2 separate regions of the Homo sapiens genome follow, and region 1 is linked to region 2. Evidence: promoter capture Hi-C in 16 types of primary human blood cells and fetal thymus (Javierre and others, 2016). All regions are on one chromosome and are shown on one strand. Each heading gives the region's core, a stretch centred on a gene start or on the middle of the fragment in contact. The rest is flanking DNA. Distances are from core to core; before and after follow the strand shown. Region 1 holds the start of RPS19BP1 (ribosomal protein S19 binding protein 1). Region 2 holds the start of RPL3 (ribosomal protein L3).

Region 1 (7,235 bases), core at 1,176-3,675, 220 kb after region 2:
GAAGAGAGCTGTGGATATCCGGGGAAAGAGCATTTGTCTAGGTAGAGGGAACACCCAGTGCAAAGGCCCTGAAGCAGAAATGTGTCAAATGTGTTTGAAAAACACAAAACAGCTGGAATGGCTGGGTGCGGTGGCTCACACCTGTAATCTCAGCACTTTGGGAGGCCGAGGCAGGCAGGTCACCTGAGGTCAGGAGTTCGAGATCAGCGTGGCCAACATGGTGAAACCCCGTCTGTATTAAAAATAACGAAAATTAGCTGGGTGTGGTGGTGGGCACCTGTAATCCCAGCTACTCGGGAGGCTGAGGCAGGAGCATCGTTTGAACTCGGGAGGCTAGAGGTTGGAGTGAGATGAGACTGCACCACTGTACTCCAGCCTGGGTGACAAAGCAAGACTCCATCTCAAAAAAAAAAAAAACAAACCAAAAACAACAACAAAAACAGCTGGAGTAGGGGGAGTGGGTAGCAGGAAGAGACCAAGTTTGGCTGGGGGTGGGGGTAGGTCATATAGCCCTTGTCAGGCACCCTAAGACCGCCACCTTTTAGTGACTACAATGAGAGCCACCCAGAGGAAAAACAAGGAATGACTTCTGATTTTACACGATCACTTTGGTTGCTGTTGAGAACAAGATTACGGGGGGAGGGGCATGTGGAAGGCAGGAGACCGGCTAGGCTTCTGCAATAATTCAGGCAAGAGACGATGCAGCTTGGAGCAAAGTGGCAGCTGCAGAGGTGTTCTTTCCATTGGCTGCGAGGCTTGCCATTCCTCTCACTCAGCATCTATGTGCCAAAACCTGTGGTGGACACCAAGGCTGCGGACAAGCCCAAGGAGGTGTGTGCCTTTAGGAGCTTCCATCCAACAGGGGAGGTGGGTGAGCACCCAGGACACGACAGTGAGACAAGGGCTGGGACAGATGGGAATGACCTCTGGCACTCCACACTCCTGCTTCATGGCAAGTATCGCTGGGGCTCAAACCTGTCTCACTTTCCTGCCTCCAGACTTTGGCTTAAGTTGTATTTCCTCCTTGGAATTCATAATTCTTTTAACAAATACTTTAACATCTTTTATGCATTAGACTCTAGGGATTCAGACACAGTAAGAGCTTGCCACGTCCTGACACATGTCAAAATATCACCATCTTGCCTACACCAGCCCCTCCGAAAGTCTTTATGTCTATTAAGTGACACTACGTCCCCCAAGAAACTAGGCTCCACCTTCACAGCCAATTCACCACTAAAACCCCTCTAAAGGCTGAAATTCTCTGCTGCCCCCTCTTTAACATATTTTCCACCTGCACAATTCTCTTGTTATCTCTGCTGCTATAGCCACTGCCCAGGCCACAGCATGTCCTATTTCAATGGAGTAGGTAATAGCAGCACTCTGGAGACACAATGCCCGGGCAGCCACAATGCCTGTACCACCTGGGCAGGTGCCTTTTTCTGAATCTGTAAAACGGGGGTGATAGTAGTATCGACCTCAAAGGGCTGCTGTAAGGATCAAACGAGCTTACATTTGTACAGCACTTAGAATCAGCACCTGGTACAGAGTGTTAGTGAATGTGTTTAAATGCTCCATCTTTGATCCTCATTCACTAGGTCACCTTTACCAGCCTTTATTTTTTCAAATTCTCAAAGGCAACAACCTCCTTTCTGACTCAGGACCTTTGCACATACTATTCTTCCTAGAATATTCTCCTACTTTTCACCTAGCTCACTCTTATACATCCTTCAGCTCTCGGCTGAAATGTCGCTTCCTCAGAGAAGGCTGACTTGGCCTAAGTCCCCATCAGAGTACCGTAGTCTTTTAATTCATAGGCTTCAATGCACTTAGCAATGACACACTGGGTTTGATATTCTTTGATGCTTCTCTCCCCACTAGGGCCGTAGTCCACGAGGACCAGGACGGTGGCGTGTTCTGTCACCTTCGTATGTCCAGGGCCCCGCTCCGCGCCTGGCACACAGTAGGTCTAGCAATACCGGGCGAACGCTTCAAGCCCTGCCTCAAGCGCCACCTCCTCTGGGGCGCAGGTCCCAGCACCGGAGGCAGCACTTTCAGCCCCTTCCCGAACTTACCCAGTGCCGACTTGGGCACCTTTCCCTTGGCCGAGTTCCGCAGTTTCTGGGCCTGAATTGCCTTCGTCTTCCGGGGCCGTTTCACCGGAGCCCCTCTCGGCTTGGCCTGACCTGGAGGGTCCCGGGGGGCTGTAGGGGAAGAGAGAGGAAGAGACCCAGGTCAGAGGGCGCGCAGCGTTCCCATGCCACTGGGGCTAAGCCCGGCCTGGATTGTTTTCCATCCAGGGCTCCCGCCCGCAGCCACTACCATCCTCCTGCCCGCGCCGGACGTCCCCTGGCCAGCCCTCCTCACCCTCGGACGCCGCCAGCAGCTCCAGGCCCCGCCGCAGCAGGGCGGCGGACATGGCGGCGCTTGGCTCCGCCCACGAGCCTCACACTACTTCCGACCTGGCAGTCCCTGTCGTCTCGGCGGAAACCCGAGCCCGAACAGAGGGATCCGGAGGGGGATGGGCGGAAGTGCCCATCTTTCTTAGGACGCATGCGTTAGGGGTTTACACTTGAGCGGAAGAAGGGGCGGAAACTGGAGGCGGGTCCAAGGCGCAGAAAGACACATGTGTTACTCAATCCCAATCTACCTGGCTCCTGGCGCTCAGTCCCCTCCTTCCCCGGAAGCCGTCCGCAACCTGCTCCGCCGGGTTGGCCAATCCTCTCGGGTCTCGTGGCTCCGTGGCGGGCTAGGATGGGGACAGGGCGGAGTGTTTTTCATATACTTCAACCAGCACTAGGTATCGCACAGGTTGAGTGCAGCATGAGAATCCAGTTGTCTTCCCTTAAGCCAGACATTAAAGACATATCTTTGTTTTGAAAACTACAATTATTTCTCATAAAATACGTTGTTTATGTTACCAAGCAATGGGTTTATTGTCATTTTAAGTGAATTAATGAATATGTAAAATTTTTGTTTTAGTTTCTAGTATGGCAAATATCAGTTGCCTACATACAAAAGTTCTTTGGGATCCTGAATTTTTTAAAATTTATTTTATTTAATTAAATTAATTTTTTTTTTGAGACGGAATCTCGCTCTGTCGCCCAGGCTGGAGTGCAGCGATCTCGGCTCACTGCAACTTCCGCCTCCCGGGTTCAAGCGATTCTTTTGCCTTAGCCTCCCGAGTAACTGAGATTACAGACGCCCGCCACCACGGCCGGCTAATTTTCTTTTTAAAAAATTTTTAGTAGAGACGGGGTTTTGCCATGTTGGCCAGGCTGGTCTTGAACTCCGGACCTCAAGTGATCCGCCCACCTCAGCCTCCCAAAGTGCTGGGATTACAGGAGTGAGGGGATTCTGAAGTTTTAAATGTAAGAAGCTTCTTAGACCAAAACATTTGAGCCCCTCTGGCCTAGAAGTGACACTGCTTACCTGGGGGAGGAGCCCTGGGCTTGTTCGCTGCTCCATCTGCAGCTGGCAGCCCAGCACCTGGCATGGAGAAGACACGCAATAAGTGAACGGTGAATCAGAAGGGACCACTGGGTTCACTCAGCCGGGTTCTGAGGGCCTTCTGTGTACTTGACACCACAGAGTGTGGGACCTGGAGTTCGTCCTCCGGGATAGACCACACCGTTTAAGCTCCATCGGCTAGAGAGTAATAATAACAACCAACACAAACTCAAGCATTTGTGCTGTTCTACGTGCTTTACATTTGTTAACTTGTTTATCCCCCCTACCCTTCCAGGTAGGAATTGTCTTTTGCATTTTACAGACGAGGAAACAAACACAGAGAGGCGAAGGTCACACGGGTGGAGTCAGGGGTGGGAGTTAAGACTGGCAGCCTGGCCGCAGGATTTGTGGGGGCGCTCCTGTCCCAGCCACCAGGGAGAGCAGTGCTGTGGTGCTGGGTGGGGCCTGTCAAGCCATGGGGTCAGGTAGGCCCCTGGAGGGTGAGGAGGAGCTGACCATGTATGGGCAGCGGGGATTGTTCTAGGCGGAGACCGCTGTAGCGAGGACCTATCCCCTGTGACACACGAGTGGCCCTTCAGGATGCCATGCTGGGCTGGAGGGTCGCAAAGGCCTCAGACTCCATGATTTTGTCCTAAGGGGAGTGTGGGGCCTGGAACCCAGTGACTGTTCAGACATATGCCTCCTTCCTGCTTCTAACATAGCCGGATTGTTGTCTTACTTATTATGTGTATTGCGTATTGTCTGTTTCCCCGCCCATACCCCACTGTAAGCTCCGCAAGGCAGGGATCTTTGTTTTGTTCATTGTTATATCCCTAGCGCCTGGAACAGTGCTTGGCATACGGTAAGAGTTCAGAAACGCACGAAATGAGTGGATGAGAGCTGAGTTTGGGACGCCAGTGAGCCGCTGGGTTGAGGCCCAGGAGGTCGTGGGATGTGCAGCGAGTCAGCCTCTCAGGAGGGCAAAGGACCAAGCTCTGTCCTCCTCCCGATCTAGGCTGAATCAGCCCACGGTCCCCCGGGTGGAGGAGTTTTCTGCCAACGTGCCAGGTGGACCCCTGCAGCGTCCGCAGCCCAGCCGGGCACGGGCGGGACGGCAGGCCAGGCGCTGCCCCAGCCTCCCGCGGAGTTATCAGCACATCCGCGGGGCCGGGCGCATTTCTGCCAATAGGTGGCGCCGCAGGACAGCTTTCTCACGCGGCGAGACTCCAAGGCCTCAGCTGCGCCCACCCGGGCTAGGTGGGGGTGGGGGTCCGGACGTCCTTCTGCCTCGGCTGGCTCCTTGCAGCCAGCACCGTGTGGCCCCGGCTTCCTGCTGTCCCGCACCCCCTCCCACTCTCACCCTGGCCTGGAGGAGTGGCTGGGGAAGCTGAGGCAGAGCCACCAGGCTGGGCTGCCCAGGGCGGGGGGCGAGGTCCCTTCCTGAAAAGTGTGCAAATGACAGCTGGGAGCTGTGTGACCCCAGCAATCCCTTAACAAAGAGTGCCTCAGTTTCCTCATTGGTTGGATGGGGCTTGGCAGGGCAGCATCCCCCTTCTAGGAGAGGTGTGAGAACCGGTGGATCAATACCGTGCCGTGTGGGCCGGGCCTGGGTGGGTCTGCGCCCAGGGACTGCGTGTAGAGGGTGCTACAGCGCTGCCATGCTACCTGCTCCCTCTGGGCAAGACGGGATGGGCAGGGGCAGCCACTGTTGGGCCCAAGCAGATCACCCCACAGCCCGCATTTGGGCACCTGCGACCTGCCAGTCTTGACGTTGGCCCTGATGGGTCAAGCTGGGGGAGGGGGAGGGGGGTTGGGCAGCTGCTTCCTGTCTCCCTGTGGGAGGGCGGGTCATGAGGTCTCCCAGGCTAGTTCCCCACCTGGCATGACCCTGGATGAGCGGCTTCACTGCTCTGAGCCTGTTTCCACACTGGGTCCCTGCCTGCCCCTGATCCCCGCACTGAGGCTTTTGGCCACACAGAGGAACCATCGCCATAAAGGGCCCTTCGGCCCCCATGCCCTATGTCTCCTCCCAGGCTCCGTGAAACAGCTTAACTACCCTGGGCCTGGGAGGCTGAGAGGCAGGTGGCTTTCTGCAGGGCTGTGCAGCCCTTCAAGAACAGAGTCAGGACTCAAGCCCAGGTCTCCGGGTCCTAAGCAAGAGTATGTGTGTGGCCCCCAGGGACCAGTGGCCCCCTGGAGAGGGGACCGTAGGGTCTCTGGGAGGTGAGCAGTTCTGGAGAGGGTGTCCTGGTGGTCTGGGGCTGGCACAGATGCCCCGGTTTCCACAAGGCCTCGGCTCACACAGCTGTGTGTCCACAGGCAAGCCGCCCTCCCTCCCCTAGCCCATTTCCTCTTCCGAGGTTTTGGGGGCTTTAGAGAGTATTGTCCAGTCCTCCATACAGGGCCGAGGCGGGAGGCGCCCGGAGCTCCTGGCTCCTGTGGTATGAAGGGAGCACTTGCTCCAGAGCCAGGCTGTACATCCTGGCTTTTCCACTTACTAGCTGTGTGACTTTGGGCAAGTCCCACAACCTCTCTGTGCCTCGGTTTCTTCGTTTATGAGTTGACTATGATAATAATCCCTACCTCATAAGGCTGCTGTGAGGATCGAGGGTTGAGCATTTGGAATTCCGTTGGACGCAGAATAAGCACTCTAGTTTGTGAATCAGTGATTGCTCTGTGGACAGCAGTGTGCCGGTGGGACCTGGGCCCCCATCTGTGGGTGTGACCTGCACTTGTATGTCGCCTCTGGATTTCCACACTCTTGTGCTCACACACGGTTAGGTTGGAGGCCACAGGGAGTAACACCTGACAGCCTGGAGTCGCTGATTCCCGTTCAGACGCCGCCTTTGCCGCTTAGCAGATGTGTGACCTGGGCACCTACCTCACCTTTCTGAGCTTCGAGGGGGCGCTTGGGGTCTGTTGGAGGTGCAGTGAGGTGGCATGAAATGTGCTCAGCACCAGGCCTGGCATTTATTCATCTGTGCAGTCAATAAATACCTGCTGATACCACTGACGGAGCAGCCAATAGGAGAAAAACCAGCCAGCATTTGCTGAGCGTGAACCAGGAGCTGCTCCACGTGCAGGAGGCGGGCATTGGGGTGAATGAAGGGCTCCGTTGGGCCTGGCGGTGCCCACATGCTCGTGTTACACTCTCAGCAAGTGTGAGTCTCTGTCGTCCAGGGTCTGCAGGGTTCAGGGTGGCACCCACCAGTCCCAGGGACAGCAGCCCCCTCAGGGCATCCAGGCAGAGGCCAAGTGGCTTCTTTCCAATCATGTGAATGGTGAAATAGTGGCATGCCTGATTTTAAGGGTATAATGAAGACACAGAAGAAGCTACTGGAAATTATCCATGGAGATATGGGGTCAGCCAGTAACCCCCGGGTGGGGGTCAAAGGTGGGGTCTTTTTAATGTCTCCACCCTGACCAGCCAAAGATGCGGCTCTGCCATTAAGCTACTGTGTGAAGTTTTTTTTTTTTGTTTTTTTTTGTTTTTATTTTTTTTTTTTTGGAGAGCAAGTCTTGCTCTGTCCCCCAGGCTGCAGGGCAGTGGCGCGATCTTGGCTCACTACAACCTCCTTCTCCTGGGTTCAAGCGATTCTTCTGTCTCAGCCTCCCGAGTAGCTAGGATTACAGAGGCCCGCCGGTGTGCCTGGCTAATTTTTGTATTTTCAGTCGAGACAGGGTTTCACCATGTTGGCCAGGCTGGTCTCGAACTCCTGACCTTAGGTGATCTGCCTGCCTTGGCCTCCCAAAGTGTTGGGATTGCAGGCATGAGCCACCAGTGCCTG
Region 2 (7,065 bases), core at 211-2,710:
GAAGGAACTTTCATTTTTGCCAACAGCAACAACTTAACTTTGGATACTGGTGCCTGAGTTACTGTCAGGATGAGCGGACAAGACCCACACCACAGGCAAACAACCAGATCCCAGCCCCTACCAGCCCAATGTTCCTGTGGCTGTCCTTTGGGTCAGTTCCTTTTGGGGTACTGCAGTGGTTTTACCTCAGCCACCTACACTTGCCCTAGTGACAAGCCTGCTTTTGAGAGAGCACAAGCTCTAAGTAAGAAAATGCATCACCGGGAGCGGTGGCTCACACCTGTAATCCCAGCACTTTGGGAGGCCGAGGCAGGTGGATCACCTGAGGTCAGGAGTTCAAAACCAGCCTGACCAACATGGAGAAACCCCGTCTCTACTAAAAATACAAAATTAGTAGGGCGTGGTGGCGCATGCCTGTAATCCCAGCTACTCAGGAGGCTGAGGCAGGAGAATAGCTTGAACCTAGAAAGTGGAGGTTGCAGTGAGCTGAGATAGGGCTATTGCACTCTAGCCTGGGCAACAAGAACGAAATTCTGTCTCTAAAAAAAAAAAAATGCATTTAAGCATAAAGCTTTCACTCAAGGACAGCCTGGCAATGTCCTGACAAAATTTCAACGGTGGACATGCACTCTCATCCGTGGTGGCCCTCACCACATGGGGTTGCACTCAGCACTTGAGATCAGCCAGGATAACCAGTAACAGGACAGCAAGAGGCACCCACTCTAACCAAGTCAATAAAAAGCCTGCTCAGCTCATCAACTAGGTTTCCAGGAGAGCAGCCAGTACCTCACAACCGACTTTCAGGCAGGCATTTCAGTGTTACTGGTGAGTCACCAGTTGAATTTTAAAGGGGAATGGTTCCCTTGCTAAGGGCCAGTAAGGACACAGTGCCCTCTGCTGGCAAGGGAGAAGCCTACCCATAAGCGTGCGGGCACGGGACCCCCATGATCACATAGGTCACTTCTACTAAGTGGCAGGCCAAGCCACCCCGGGGCACTGGGCTCACCTGGGTGTGGGCAATGACACGGATGACTTGGCAGTACTTCTTCATGCTGCTGAAGTCCTTCTCCAGCTGCTTCTTGCCATCCTCATCCTGCCATTTCTTGCAGTACTTGGTAAAGGCCTTCTTCTTAGATTTATGCCTTCAGGAGCAGAGCAGAGTTGGGGAGGGGACCAGGTGCAGGCCTTCATCACCCCTCCGAGGGGTGAGCGGAAGGCACACTGGCACCGCGTGGGGATGGAGCTCATTGCCGGCTTCTAAGGAGCCTTTTCCACCAGCAAGCGGAGCCTGGATGGAGCTCATCGGGCAGAGCCGAGCGGAGCTGAGCAGAGGTCCACAAGGTTAATTTAAGTTACACGCATTCAAACAAAATTCTTGCTCCGGGACAAACCTTTCTGCCCTGGGGAAGCCCACTCAGTGATGAAGGAAATGGGACATTCCACCCAGGGCCAGAGGCCCTTGCCACCCCTATAGGGGTTTAATTATTCTGCTACCTCTCCTGGTTTCTAGTTGGACTCCTCAACCAACTGGGTCCTCAGCCACCACCCACTAGCCTGGACTCAGAATGAGGGTGTTAGCTTCCGGCTGAAACCAGATGGCTGGCCAAGTCTGATCCCAGGTATTTTTCTGTTCGAGAGGCAAACTAAACCCAAGACAGCAGCTCCCTGCCTGCTACAGAGCTGAGAAACCATGCACACGCTGCTCCCTGCTCTCCAGCTCCCAAGCTCCCAAGCTAGGGACTGCATGGCCTCCTCCCTTACCAATTCTTATAGAAACGCCTCTTGCATTCATCACTGATGTGCTCAGCAAAGACAGTCTTGAAGGTCCGGAGGCCTCGAGGGGTTTCCACGTAGCCCACAATGCCCACAACCACCATGGGTGGTGTCTCTACAATGGTCACAGCCTCCACCACCTCCTTCTTGTTCACCTCTGCAAAAAAAAAGCAGTAGTCAGACTTGGCAGGAGCCCAAGCAAGGGGTGTAATGTTTTCTAGGAAAATGCAAAGTGCCCATTTAGGCCGGAAGGGCAACTGGGCCCCACACCTGCAGTACGGACTCACAGGGCTGTCCTTACTGCCTATCTCTCATTCAAAGCACATTTATGTTATTCAAACAAAAAATATCAGGACCCTAGACAGCCAAATACCTGTCCAGCTTCAATTCTCTTCTACAGAAACCTCTGGAGGCAGACAAGATTGCTATTTATCTGGAAAATTCAGTGCCCTAACAATAGCTCTGAGCTCAGAGATTAGTCAGTATCAACTGCCTAACATTAATGTCTCCATGGCTCAGCAACCAGTGCTGTTAGACATCTCTAAGTAGAACACACACAGGTAAGTGGCCATTATTCAAGCTTTCAGGTGAAAAAAACATGAATGAGGCAGTTCTTATGCCAGCCTCAGCAGCTCCAACCCCCCACACTAGTGTTAACTTCTCTTTGCTAAGGTTCCTGGCAAATTTACTATGCTCTGAAATCAATACCCCACACCGCACCTAAAGCAAACAGTGCTGACCATCTGTAGCCTTGGAATATTAGTTTTCAAGTTAAGCATTCCCATTCTGCTGTCGCAGCAGTTCTGACAACGTGTAACTCCTGCTTAAAAAAAAAAGTCTGCCCTCTGCTAACAGCTTGACTCCATCTCTACAATTTCCCTCCCCCTCCACTCCTATTCCCCCAACTTTTAGGATGTCTGTACATACTGGATCCCGGCCTGTCGACTTCCCGCACGATGTGAGTCATGCCAGCCTTGTATCCCAGGAAGGCTGTGAGGTGGACCGGCTTGGACGGGTCATCCTTAGGGAAGCTCTTCACCTTCCCACGATGCCTGCTGCTGCGCTTCCGAGGCAGGAAGCCGAGGGACCCATGTCTGGGAGCGGAGAACTTTCTGTGAGACTAGGTGGGAAAAAAATCACCGTCAGCACCCAAACCAAAGCAGTGCCCCCTTCTCTAGTTCCCAGCTGCTTAAGTTCCAAATCTCAGCAATACTGAAGAATCCTGACCAGACACCCAGCAAGCCGAATAAAAAGGTCATTATCTCTTCCAGGCTCGCACGTGTCAAGAATGCTTTTGTATTCGACAAAATTTAAGCTGAATCTTATTTCAAATCCTCTCAACCTGTAAGAAAACGACCCATTTTTTTTATCTAACCACACAAAAATACACTAAGTAGTGGCACTAAAAACTGCTTAACAGGCAGCTTTATATGCCAATTAGCAAGGTTTTGACCGCTAAAGAAAGGGACTCCCGGGACAAACGCTGGGTAGCAGCTAGCAATGTTAAGCTATAGGCTGCCTCCGGTGCCCGGACACTAATTACACTGATACACACAGGCCAAAGAACTCCGCAGAGCCAAATCAGAACGTGACAATCAGCACACAGTTTCTGTCCGCCCGTCAATAAGTTCATCATCTGTGGTTTCTGCGAGCTCCAGAGGCCTTCGGAGTGCACCAGCGGCCCCAGATATTCAGGAGGACTCCACAACACTCCCCTCCCCCAAGCTTCTTTACCTCCCAATGAGAACGGCGCCGAGAACCTCCACCCAAGGTCCTTCTACCCAGACAAGCAGGTTATGGGCCCTAATCCCAACTAATGATAGAATTGGTGAGGTCGAAACTTAGAAATGACTCATGGCTTTAAAAACGCCGGGCCTCCAAGCCTGCTCCCACCCTTACGGCCTCTCTCTGGCCGACCTGCAGGCCCAAAGCCAGTCCTCCAAGCGCTCTTCACAAGCCTCTCGACTTTCCAGAAAATAGGCCAGACTGAAGTCCCCGCTGGGTCGCCCGTGCCCCTAAAGCAAACCCCCGGCGCCGGCCAAGACGGGATGGCGGCGATGCGTCGCGGATTCAGCCGTGCCGACGCCGGTGACAATGAAACGGCCGCCATTACAACACATACCATCACGCCATCAAATCCCGCCGGTAGAGGCCGGTCGGCCTTACGGGTCCGCTATATAAAGCCAAATCTGGCCCCGCCCCTTCCGGCGTGCGAGCGCGCCCCCGCGGCAGACGACAGGTCGGGGGCACGTACCGAGCGCCATTTCCACGCACGCTCTTCCGCTCCTAGCTTTCGTTCAGAAGTTGACGTCAGCTTCGGAGACAGAAATTACACACTCTACGGCGAGGGGTCGGGTTCAAACTTAGTGAAAAGCCGCGGAGAGGTGGGCTAAGGGTGGGTGAGCCACAAATCTACGGCGTCCGGCAGCAGCCAAATTTGATAATAACGAAGAAAAATGGCTGCGTCGCTTCTCCTCCTGTGATATGCAGCTATCTCTGGAATTAGCGAAGAAAGACTGAAACTCTCGTTTCCTGGCTCCCACGCTGGTTTTGCGGCGACACCAATTTACCTTTAATACCTTTAATCTCGGGCATCCCTCCCTCAAGCCCTATCTCTGCCATTTCTCCCATGCTAATGCAGTGGCCCGCGCTTGATTCTGAGGGTCAGGAGCGTCCCAAGCCTGCGGAACGGCCTCACGACCTCTGGTCATGCCGAGTCCAGCTGCTCAGCCTCCCGGAGCCCCACGCCTTCCAGACCTATGCATCAGCGAGGGCTTTCGCTGATCTCTGCCTAGGCTCCAGGGTGACTCGGATCCTGACCGATTCCCTGCTTCCAGGCTGGTCCCTTACAAATCTCTTTTTTGAGACGGAGTCTCGCTCTGTCGCAGTGGCGCGATCTCAGCTCACTGCAAGCTCCGCCTACCGGTTCCCAGTTCAAGCAGTTCTCCTGCCTCAGCCTCCCGAGTAGCTGGGATTACAGGAATGCGCCACCATGCCTGGCTAATTTTTTTTTTTTTTTTTTTTGTATTTTTAGTGGAGACGGTGTTTCACCATGTTGGCCAGGCTGGTCTTGAACTCCTGATCTCGTGATCCGCCCGCCTCGGCCTCCCAAAGTGCTGGGATTACAGGTGTGAGCCACCGCGCCTGGCCCCCTACAAATCTTTCTAAGAATCAAGTATCTCGTTACTTTCCATGGCCGCCTCGTTGTTTCCTCGGAATTAAGCATCAACTTCAGCGGCCACCAAAGACGCTCCCCTAACCGTCTACTTCAGCCTCATGGCTGCGCCAGAGCACACGCTCTCATATCACCTGCTTCCTCTGTCCCACCCTGTCATCTTCTTTAATTCTGGGCCTGGCCTTTGCTCCCACCGTCGTTTGAAAAGCATTCTCTCGGCCAGGCGCGGTGGCTCACGCCTGTAATCCCAACACTTTGGGAGACCGAGGCGGGCGGATCACCTGAGGTCAGGAGTTCGAAACCAGCCTGGGCAACATGGCGAAACCCCGTCTCTATTAAAAATACAAAAATTAGCGGGGCACGATGGTGTGCGTCTGTAATCCCAGCTACTTGGGAGGCTGAGGCGGGAGAATCGTTTGAACCCGGGAGACGGAGTTTGCAGTGAGCTGAGATTGCGCCAGTGCAATCCAGCTCAAAAAAAAAAAAATTATCTCAATCCTCACACCATTCCCGAAGGACATAAGTGATAGATCTTCAATCCATTATTAGAAATCCTGGGGGCCACATATGTTTCAAAATTGAGCATTTTTTGATTTTTAGAAAGGTAATATGGTGCACATACTGTATATTATGTAATACAGCACTTTTTAAAGAAAAACAATATTCCGTAAGGAAACATGAATATTCACATGGAGTGGGACAAATATAAATAGACTCACATCAGTTCAAGGCTGACTTTGCTGCTCAAAAAATGCATCAGTTTACTTTTTGCTGCCAAATAATTTAAGAAGGTTTTTAAAATTTCAGGATACAGGCCAGGCACGGTGGCTCACACCTGTAATCCCATCACTTATGGGAGGCTGAGGAGGGTGGATCACTGGAGGTCAGGAACTTGAGACCAGCCTGGCCAACACAGTGAAACCCCGTTTCTCCTAAAAATACAAAAATTAGCAGTTGTTGTGCACGCCTGTAGTCCCAGCTACCCCGGAGGCCGAGGGAGGAGAATTGCTTGAATCCGGGAGGCAGAGGTTGCAGTGAGCCGAGATCGTGCCATTGTGCTCCAGCCTGGGTGACCAATCAGGATTCTGTCTCAAAAAAAAAAAAAAAAAAAAAACAAGACCAGGCGTGGTGGCTCATGCCTGTAATCCCAGCACTTTGGGAGGCCAAGGTGGGTGGTTCACCTGAGATCAGGAGTTCGAGACCAGCCTGGCCAACATGGTGAAACCCCGTCTCTACTAAAAATACAAAAATTAGCCAGGGGTGGTGGTGGGCGCCTGTAATCGCAGCTACTTGGGAGGCTGAGGCAAGAGAATTGCTTGAACCTGGGAGATGGAGGTTGCAGTAAGCCAAGATTGCACCATTGCACTCCAGCCTGGGTGAGAAAAGCAAAACTCCATCTCAAAAAAAAAAAAAAAAAAAAATTTCAGGATGCAGACAAAGGATTATAACCTACCCATATTGCCCCCCGCCCTTTTTTTTTTCCGATACGGAGTCTGGCTCTATCGCCCAGGCTGGAGTGCAGTGGCGCACAGTGGCACTATCTCGGCTCACTGCAAGCTCTGCCTCCCGGGTTCATGCCATTCTCCTGCCTCAGCCTCCCAACTATCTGGGACTACAGGCACCCGCCACCAGGCCCGGCTAATTTTTGGTATTTTTAGTAGAGACAGGGTTTCACTGTGTTATTCAGGATGGTCTTGATCTCCTGACCTCGTGATCCACCCGTCTCAGCCTCCCAAAGTGCTGGGATTACAGGTGTGAGCCACCGCGCCCAGCCTATTGCCCCGTTTTTACATAGAAAACTAAACTTCCAGCCAAGAGGTTAATAACTTGACAAAGTCACATAATTAGTGAAGGACAGAGCTCAAGTCTATCTGACTCCAGGTTGGTTTTTCACGGCATTAGACTCAGGGATCAATAATCCCCTTATCGGAAAAGGAGCTTTGGAATCCTGAGCAAGAAGAAATTCTTACTGGAGGCCTGCTCTGTGCCGGGTCCTGCACCAGGCTGCAGGAATATAGAGAACAAGATGGCCACTGTCACAGACCAAATAAGACAATTTAAAATTGTAATGAAGGTTCAAAAGAAAAGTGCCACTAAGGGTCCTGGGCAAACTATTC

The links. The method cuts DNA at HindIII sites, captures the fragments that hold promoters and counts their contacts. A CHiCAGO score of 5 or more calls a contact.
Region 1: a contact is called between the fragment with the promoter of RPS19BP1 here and a fragment that was not itself captured in region 2, in 2 of 17 cell types (M1 macrophages and endothelial precursors). The highest score is 5.4, in M1 macrophages.

Annotation. Positions count from the first base shown.
Region 1 is chr22:39,530,323-39,537,557 of GRCh38, forward strand. RPS19BP1 (ribosomal protein S19 binding protein 1) reads right to left here and starts at 2,426. Exons shown (of 4, transcript NM_194326.4): 1 at 2,365-2,426; 2 at 2,073-2,201. The coding sequence starts at 2,416. RefSeq lists enhancers at 1,640-2,155, 2,156-2,671, 2,461-2,520, 2,571-2,620 and silencers at 1,881-2,010, 2,191-2,350, 4,422-4,716, 4,582-4,631, 4,692-4,781. The HindIII fragment of the contact is 8,920 bases long and covers 1-3,374 here.
Region 2 is chr22:39,315,700-39,322,764 of GRCh38, forward strand. RPL3 (ribosomal protein L3) reads right to left here and starts at 3,924. Exons shown (of 10, transcript NM_000967.4): 1 at 3,896-3,924; 2 at 2,701-2,893; 3 at 1,762-1,930; 4 at 1,007-1,142. The coding sequence starts at 3,898. SNORD139 (small nucleolar RNA, C/D box 139) reads right to left here and starts at 1,197; the gene lies at 1,143-1,197. It overlaps SNORD43 (small nucleolar RNA, C/D box 43), which reads right to left and starts at 3,414; the gene lies at 3,353-3,414. RefSeq lists enhancers at 690-739, 1,134-2,022, 1,650-1,729, 1,840-1,929, 2,913-3,802 and 4 more. The HindIII fragment of the contact is 1,782 bases long and covers 570-2,351 here.